2 separate regions of the Homo sapiens genome follow, and region 2 is linked to region 1. Evidence: promoter capture Hi-C in human tissues and cell types (Jung and others, 2019). All regions are on one chromosome and are shown on one strand. Each heading gives the region's core, a stretch centred on a gene start or on the middle of the fragment in contact. The rest is flanking DNA. Distances are from core to core; before and after follow the strand shown.

Region 1 (4,055 bases), core at 390-2,889:
GGAGGCGGAAGTTGCAGTGAGCTGAGATCGCGGCCACTGCACTCCAGCCTGGGCAACAGAGCAAGACTGTCTCAAAAAAGAAAAAAAAAAAGAAATCCCACTTGTGTCCCAATTGGGGCCAGTGGCTGAACCTGTCAGACATCTGCACACCCACACAGAGCCAGCAGCTGCACTCCTTTCTCTGTGACAATTGTCAAGGCCTTCCTGTGCAACTCTCTTCAGCCACCAAGGGACCCACAAGGCGGGCAGCCCTCCAAGTGCCCTTCAGCCTCCTGCTCGCCCTCAATTAGCTTGGTAAGCCCTGAGTTTTGTACTTGGGCAGGGAGATAGACCTCCTGACAAGGCTTTCGATGTGCAGACACCCAAAGGATGGAGAAAGGGAGTGGAACAGTCCCAGCATCCCTGAAGCAGATGCAGTGGAGGCAGAAAGGTGGGGCAAACTGGGTCGTTACATGCAATATATGTGCTGGACTGGCCAACAAAATTAGATGTCCCTATTGAGGGCAGGAGCCACACAATAGATGGGGGCAAGAGCTGGGGGTTACAAATGGGTAGGAGGCGTGACCAGTTCATCCTACCTGGGAGGGCCCGTAGAGTCAGCAACACCCAAAGGGGCTGGGGAGGCTGTGGTTCCCCAATGGGGCCGCACGTGTTAGAATCAACTAGGAGCCGGACTAGGGGCCTGGCGCAGTGGCTCAAGCCTGTACTCCCAGCACTCTGGAAGGCTGAGACACGAGGATCGCTTGAGCCCAGGAGTTCCAGACCAGTCTGGGCAACATATGGAGACCCTATCTCTAAAATAAATAAATAAATAAAAATAAAAAAACTATCCAGGCATGGTGGCTCCCACCTATAGTCCCAGCTATTCGGGAGGGTGAGGTGGGAGGGTCGCTTCAGTACAGGAGTTCGAGACCAGCCTGGGCGACATAGTGGGAGGAGGAAGGGAGGGGGAGAAGGAGGGGGAGGGAGAGAAGAAAGAAAATTAGCCGGGCGTGGTGGCGCGCGCCCCTGTTAACAGCTACTCTGGAGGCTGAAGTAGGAGGATCGCTTGAGCTCAGGAGGTCGAGGCTGCAGTGAACCGTGATGGTGTCACTGCATTAGCCTGGGCGACAGAGCGAGACCCCGTCTCAAAAAAGCAAACCAAAAAAAATACAAAAAAATAGACTTAACTGAGGAGTTTTGACGCGCATATGCTCGGGCCCAGTCCCAGATTCTGATGTTATCGGTCTGACTCGCAACGCGCTCACCAAGACACTTCAGAGCTCCCCAGGTGCTTCCCAGCCCAACTCTCCCACCCGAGGGGAGCCTGCGAACCGCAAGTCGGTTCCGGGTTGGGACCTCTTAGAAATCAGATTGGGAGAGGAGGCTATCAATCATAATCATGACCAGTCACCCGCTTTCACGAGAAGGAATGGGCGGGACCCTACGTCCCCGTCCAGAACGCCGTTTCTTTGGCGACGACTTAGGTCCACGCCCCGCCTTTTAGGTGTAGCCGGCCTCTGTTTCTATGATAACCGAAGCCCAAGCCTCTCCCTACACCGCTTTCTCCGCAGCGTCAAAGCGGGACATGACGGGACTACGTTTCCCAGCAGTCCCCGCGCGGGTTCCCGCCTGCGCTTGCTGTGGCCCGGGTCCCTCAGTGCCGCGGCGGCCCGGAGGTGGCGGGAGGACGGCTCCGCGCTGCATGCGGGGCGGGGACCAGGGACCCGTGCGGGCCGCCTCCAGAGAGTAAGTGGCATTCTGCGCGGACCCGCAACCTCGGCCTGCGAGGCGGGGACCTCCCGGCGCATAGCGCGGCCACCACCCCAGTCCCCTCTCCACCTCCGCGCGCGGGGTCCGGGGCAGAGGCGTGACGCCGCGCACTTCCGGTCCTCGCGCTCCGGGTCCGGACCGGCCACACAGCACTCGCGACCTTGAGTTCCGGGCGGGACGGGCTTCTGTAGTTCTGGCCCCCGCGTTTCCGTGCTGGGTGTCATTGAAGCCCGCGAGGGGAGGCTCCAGGCCCGGGACCCATCCTGGCGGCCTGCGGCTCTCGGAGTCAAGCCCACCTGCTAGCCGAGGCCGACGCCGGCCTCCCTACCGTCTCTGCCCCCGCATCCTGGCCTTTGCACTTTGCTCTTTCCTTGTCTGCAGACCGGTTTCATGCCCCCTCTTCACAGAGGCCCGAAGAATCCGCTGCCTCCCTCCCTGGCGCCCTCGCGCTGCTCCCTGTCTGATGTTCTTCACGTCTTTTTCTCTCTTAAACGGTCTCTTGTTCATTTCTTCTTGTCTGCGGTCCCCTCCTTCACTCACTATTAGAGCAGGATGCAGCACCGTTTGGCCCTGACACAGTGGATGTCCTGCGAGGGTTGAAGCTTGCTAATCCTTGAGGGTGGAGGCACTGTCGGGAGGACAGACACAGAAGGGAGCTGTGCCTGCACTCAGAGGACATTTCTTCTGCTGTACAGTGCATGATGCACTGTTCTTCCCATTGCGTGCACAGTGTAGAATTGGACATAGGGGCTAGAGTCTGTGTCCCCTGGGACTGTCAGTGTGGGTGAGGTTGGTCTGTGGCTCAGAGAGGTGGAGCCACGCTGAGCTGGGCACTAGCCTGTGTCCTCCACACCTCAGAGCCACCAACGTTGACTTCCCTGCACATTCTGTTTTTGTTGTTGTTGTTGTTGTTGTTGTTTTGAGACGGAGTTTCGCTCTTGTTGCCCAGGCTGGAGTGCAGTGGCGCGATCTCGGCTCACTGCAACCTCCGCCTCCCGGGTTCAAGCGATTCTCCAGCCTCAGCCTCCCGAGTAGCTGGGATTACAGGCATGCACCACCGTGCCTGGCGACTTCCCTGCACATTCTCTTGGGCAAATAAGACCTCATTGTGCCGTGTGCAACCTCCATGAGGATGTTGAACCTCACTAGCTTTCCTGTGTGTGCTGTTGCTCTGCAGTTCTGCAGGGCTCAGCCTTGGCCACGTTAACCTCTCAGTCCCCCTAAATTGGTAACTCTGCATCCTGTTCCCAACACCAGAAGCCCTAAGGACAACTAGAAAGGCTGGGCGAGCACCCAGGTGCAAGCATGCTCACCTGGGGCAGGTGGGAGGTCACTGTAAGAACAGCCTGGGAGAGCTGTAATGCACCATCAAGGACGGGCTCCTGGGACCTGGGACCCAGAGCCTCGATTGTGTTTGCTGTGCTCAGCCTCAGATCATGGGTCCATGGCTGGAATGCCACCCACCTACAGGTGGGATAGTTGGACAGTGCATCCTGGGAGCAGATCAAGGAGACGAAGAGACTCGGCCATGGTCCACAGCTCCCACCTGCTGTGTCTGGTGCTGGGAGGCAGGTTCTTGTTGCAGCAGAGGAGCCACCCCTGGGAGCAGGGCATCTGGGGACCAATCCGAAGATGCTGTTAGCACATGGCTAGCAGGTGCCCCTCAGCCCCCACCTCCCACAAGTTCAGGGTCCCTTTCTGCCAAGTGGGGACTGCTGGTTCTTCAGGACAACCCAGCTTCCCCAACCCTCTGTTCAGACACTAAGCAGTCCTCTGACTCCCCATCACTAGGGATCAGGAGAGCCCCTTACAACACACACATTCTGTCGAGGGTGCTAGACCAGTCTCTATTAGTTTCTGTGGCTGCTATAACACACTACCACAAACTGGGCAGTTTAAAACAACAGAAATTTACTCTCACAGTCCTGGAAGCCAGAAGTCTGAAATCAAGGTGTCAGCAGTACTGTGCTCTCTGACGGCTCTGGGTGGGGGTCTTTCCTTGCCTCTTCCGGCTTCTGGCGGCTCCGGGTGTTCCTTGGAGTGTGGCTGCATCACTCCAATATCAGCCTCCATCTTCACATGGACCACTCTTCTCCGTGTCAGAACTCCCTTTGCCTCCTTCATAAGGACACCTGTCATTGGAATTAGGGCACACCCAGGTTATTCAGGGTGATCTCATCACAAGATCCTTAATTATGTCTGCAAAGACCTAATAAGGTCACATTCTGAGAGTTCCGGGGTTAGGACATTGGATATATCTTTTGCAGCCTCCTTCAGTGGAACCTGCCTGATCCTGGGTGACC
Region 2 (4,055 bases), core at 1,556-4,055, 1.0 Mb after region 1:
CCAGGAACCAGGATCATGTCCCTCTGAGTCTCTACAGCCCTTCAGGGAGTAATATCCACCCTCTTGGGTACCAGGGCCCTCCCCATTGCTTAAGGTGACAGTCTGTGAGACCTGAAAGAGACCAGTCCTAGGGGAAAGACACAGAAAGAGACAAGACAGCACATTCCCAGAGAGATCACCTGATGATATCTCACATTCGATAATCACCAGAACTTCACAGAAGATTTCTACATCCTACACAATCAAGCCAGTGGTTCACCAAATTAGTGATCAGGTCAGTGCCAGAAATTCCAGGAACAAGAAGGGACCAAGAAATATTGGCAAGAGCAAGGGAACAACAGAGCACAGAGGTCTCATGCATTTGAATAGAACACAGGGCCAGTGGGTCTCTATGTCACCTTCAACATTTCTGGATCCTGAGCCCTTTCTTGCAAGCCTCAGAACAGCAGAGGATGGGGCTGCCAGGAAAAAGGAAGCACACAGCACATATTGCAGTCCTGACTCTCATGGAACATATGTCAGGAAACAAGGAAAAGAAGCAGCACCCATGGTCTCACTGTGGGAAACGCAGAGCTGCCTTCAGGTAAAAGGAGACAACACAGCCCAACCCAGGACACTGGGCAAGTGTGAGGGCCTTACCTAGTGAGGACAAAAGGGCCAAATTCTCCAGCATCACATCACGGTACAGCAATCTCTGAGCCTCATCGAGATGCCCCCACTCCTCCTGGGAGAAATATATGGCCACGTCTTCAAAAACCACATGACCCTGCCAAATTGGGAAAGATGAATACATGAGCAGCTTTTCAAACTGTATTTACTTAAGTTCTCTATTTATTTTCTACTTATATTTACCACCCATTAAACACAGGGACAAACTAACAGCTAAATGTGTTTCCATCTCCCCTACCATCCTGGGCACATATTCTTAACCATCTCCATCTCTAACTTTCTCAAACCAAGTCAGTATTTCCCATGCTCTAAATCAACCCAGGGACAGGTACTGCACAACTAGGGACAGTCCCAATAGCCCAGGTGTCCTGGAATTACTAAAACTAGCCAAACTATCCTGACAGCCAGCCCTGCCTTGTTTCCCTTGGAAACCCCAACAGCATCTGTGGACTAAACTAAACTCACTCCAATTTTCCTCCTGATCAAATCTGGTGTTTCACCGTGTGGCCCTGTGTTATGTGGTATGTAACCTCCTTAGGGAAACGTAAGGAATAAATATCTTCTTTCAGTGTCATTGGCCTGTCCCTGGCATCACTCACTCACATCCATAAATTAAAACTCCATGGGGGCCAGGCACAGTGGCTCATGCCTATAATCCCAGCACTTTGGGAGGCTGAGGCGGGCAGATCACCTGAGGTCAGGAGTTCAAGACCAGCCTGGCCAACACAGTGAAATCCCATCTCTACTAAAAATACAAAAATTAGGTGGGCATGGCGGCACATGCCTGTAGTCCTAGCTACTTGGGAGATTGAGGCAGAACTGCTTGAATCCAGGAGGTGCAGGTTGCAGTGAGCCAAGATCATGCCACTGCACTCCAGCCTGGGTGACAACACAGCAAGACTCCATCTAAAAAAAAAAAAACAAAAAACCCCAATGGGTACAATCACTGCTACTTTTCTCTCTCCAGGAACTCATCCCTCTCCCCTACACCTCCTTTCCTTCCTCAATCTCTACACCCTCCCAATGTGGAAGAGAAACCACATCCAGGTGGCATGAGTGACTTTTCTCTCCATATTGACATTGGCCACCGTGTCCAGCACACAGAGGAAACAGATGGAAGATAAGGTAGAAAAGGAATGTGGGCCTCCCGTGGGGGGATCCATCCTCTCCTGCCAGCCAGTTTCCATGGAGTCACCCAGATCTTGCCTCCCAAGACAACCAAACTCAGACTCATCCTCCTCCCTTGAGCTACCAGGGCCAGGGCCTGAGGCCCTCCATTCACACTCCTCCTGCCTGCACATCACTCTTTGGACAGCACTCCAATCCCATCTCTCACACCTCCACTCCAGTCAATTCCACAGACACCTCCCAGCCCACACCACAGGCATTTCCTTCACCTCCTAACAGGCCACTCTGCACACAGAAACCAGGTGGTGCACGGCAAATACGCTCAGCATCCAATTCACTCCCAGTCCTGCCCCAGAACACCAAAGTTCCCTAGCACCGGGGGCAGCCCTAAGCCCTGGGTTGAAGGTTCCCTACATGGCCCTGTTTCTCACTTCACTGTCAGGTGCCCAAACCATGTGAGGACTTCACATACTCTCAGCTGTGTCCTGCCTCATGGACACAGGATTGTAAGTTTCCTGAGGCCTCCGAGTTATGCTTCCTGTTAAGCCTGAAGAACTATGGGCTGGGTGCGGTGGCTCACGCCTGTAATCCCAACACTTTGGGAGGCTGAGGAGGATGGATCACGAGGTCAGGAGATCAAGACCATCCTGGCCAACATGGTGAAAGCCCATCTCTACTAAAAATACAAAAATTAGCTGGGCGTAGTGGGGTGAGTCTGTCGTCCCAGCTATTCAGGAGGCTGAGGCAGAAGAATCGCTTGAACCTGGCAGGGAGAGATTGCAGTGAGCCGAGATTGTGCCACTGCACTCCAGCCTGGGCCACATCTCAAAAAAAAAAAAAAAAAAAAAAAAGAACTGTGAGTCAATTAAACTTCTTTTCTTCATAAAGTACCCAGTCTCAGGTAGTTCTTTGTAGCAATATGAAAACAGACTAATAGAATTCCCATCCTCATCTCATTCCAACTGATGCTTAGCAACTCTCCGACCTCACCCTATTACCCTCCTCAGCAACCCCATCATGTCCACTCTCCTTCAGAAGTCTTTCTCACTCCTATACCCCACCATCTCACATACACTCATCCCCACAAACACTCCATTCCCTCATTTGTCTAGTGACTCCTCCACCACTGCACAGCTACCCAGTAAGAGACCCAGTTCTCATGCCCCATTCCAATTCTCTGTCTTCGAACAGCACTGCCACCATAACCTAGAGATGCTGTCACCTAAACTGAATCCATGGCTTCATCCTGGTCCATACGACAGCCACCATAGTGTGGACGTCTCCAACCTGAACTCCTCCACCAGGAGTCTCTGAGACATCTGTGGCTTGAACAAACACTGACTCCTCACACTCACTCTGAAAATTCCTAATACTGCTGACTTCTCCCATCTTAGCTGATGGAGCATCTATGCTTCCAAACAAAAACCATGGGGCCACTCCTGATTCCCCTTCTATCCCACCCCCCCAGCTGCCTCACTCTCTACATCATAAAATGTGGGCAGCTCCAGTTCAAAACACATCCTGAAGCCACCGCTACTCTTGACAAGTCACCACCAACATCCACCTAGACTGCTGCAGGAACATCCTCTCAGATCTCCCTGCCATTACCCTCACCTCCACAGTCTGTCCTCCACTCAGACGCCAAAGAAAGTTCCTTAAGCTAGGGTCCTATCACTGCCCTCTTCTGCTTCAAATCTTCCCCATCTACCACCTCCCTTAGATTAGAGACCCAGGACCTAGGCTGTCATTCCAGGCCTGATGTTTGTGTGTCTCTAGCCACCTCCCACTCTGCTCCCTATTCCTATCCGATATAACAGACACTTGCAGTTCCCTAAAAATCCAGTTCAGTCTCTCCTCTAAACACTGAAACATTCTTAATCTTGTGCCCATGACACTCTGACAGATGTTACCACGTCAACTGTCAAAAATGGGAGCCACTCCACATAATCCAGGGCCATCCAGGTAAGGTGTCACAGTAAACTTAAAACAATCAAACAAAAATCCCAGACCTAATTTAAGATACTAGAACTGGTGGAATCACTCACTTTTCAGACATAAGAGAGGGAGAAAGACAGAAAGAGAGTCTCTGGACACCACTTTTCTTTACATGGAGGTGCCAAAACCATCTATGAGATAACTGGTAGGTGAAAGGTAGAAAACACTCCACTCACCTGTGCAGGGTTCATTTCTGCCATCGCCAGGGGACCCTGAAGGAAGAGGGAAACCGTGAGAAATGGGCAACGATGGGAAGATCTTAC

What was found. The method cuts DNA at HindIII sites, captures the fragments that hold promoters and counts their contacts. A contact is called where the count stands out against the background at its distance.
Region 2: a fragment that was not itself captured here is called in contact with the fragment with the promoter of ZNF837 in region 1 in 1 of the 25 tissues and cell types used here (dorsolateral prefrontal cortex).

What each region holds. Positions count from the first base shown.
Region 1 is chr19:58,378,614-58,382,668 of GRCh38, reverse strand. ZNF837 (zinc finger protein 837) reads left to right here and starts at 1,639. Exons shown (of 3, transcript NM_138466.2): 1 at 1,639-1,728. It overlaps LOC105372484 (a long non-coding RNA gene), which reads right to left. Exons shown (of 2, transcript XR_936130.2): 2 at 3,644-3,884. RefSeq lists a silencer at 1,378-1,887 and enhancers at 2,238-2,297, 1,832-2,373, 2,328-2,557, 2,374-2,915. The HindIII fragment of the contact is 47,170 bases long and covers 1-4,055 here.
Region 2 is chr19:57,368,493-57,372,547 of GRCh38, reverse strand. It overlaps ZNF547 (zinc finger protein 547), which reads right to left. Exons shown (of 4, transcript NM_173631.4): 2 at 3,969-4,004; 3 at 640-766. The coding sequence starts at 3,992. Among named protein-coding and RNA genes, the nearest start is that of ZNF547, 7.0 kb to the right of the region's middle. The HindIII fragment of the contact is 8,803 bases long and covers 1-4,055 here.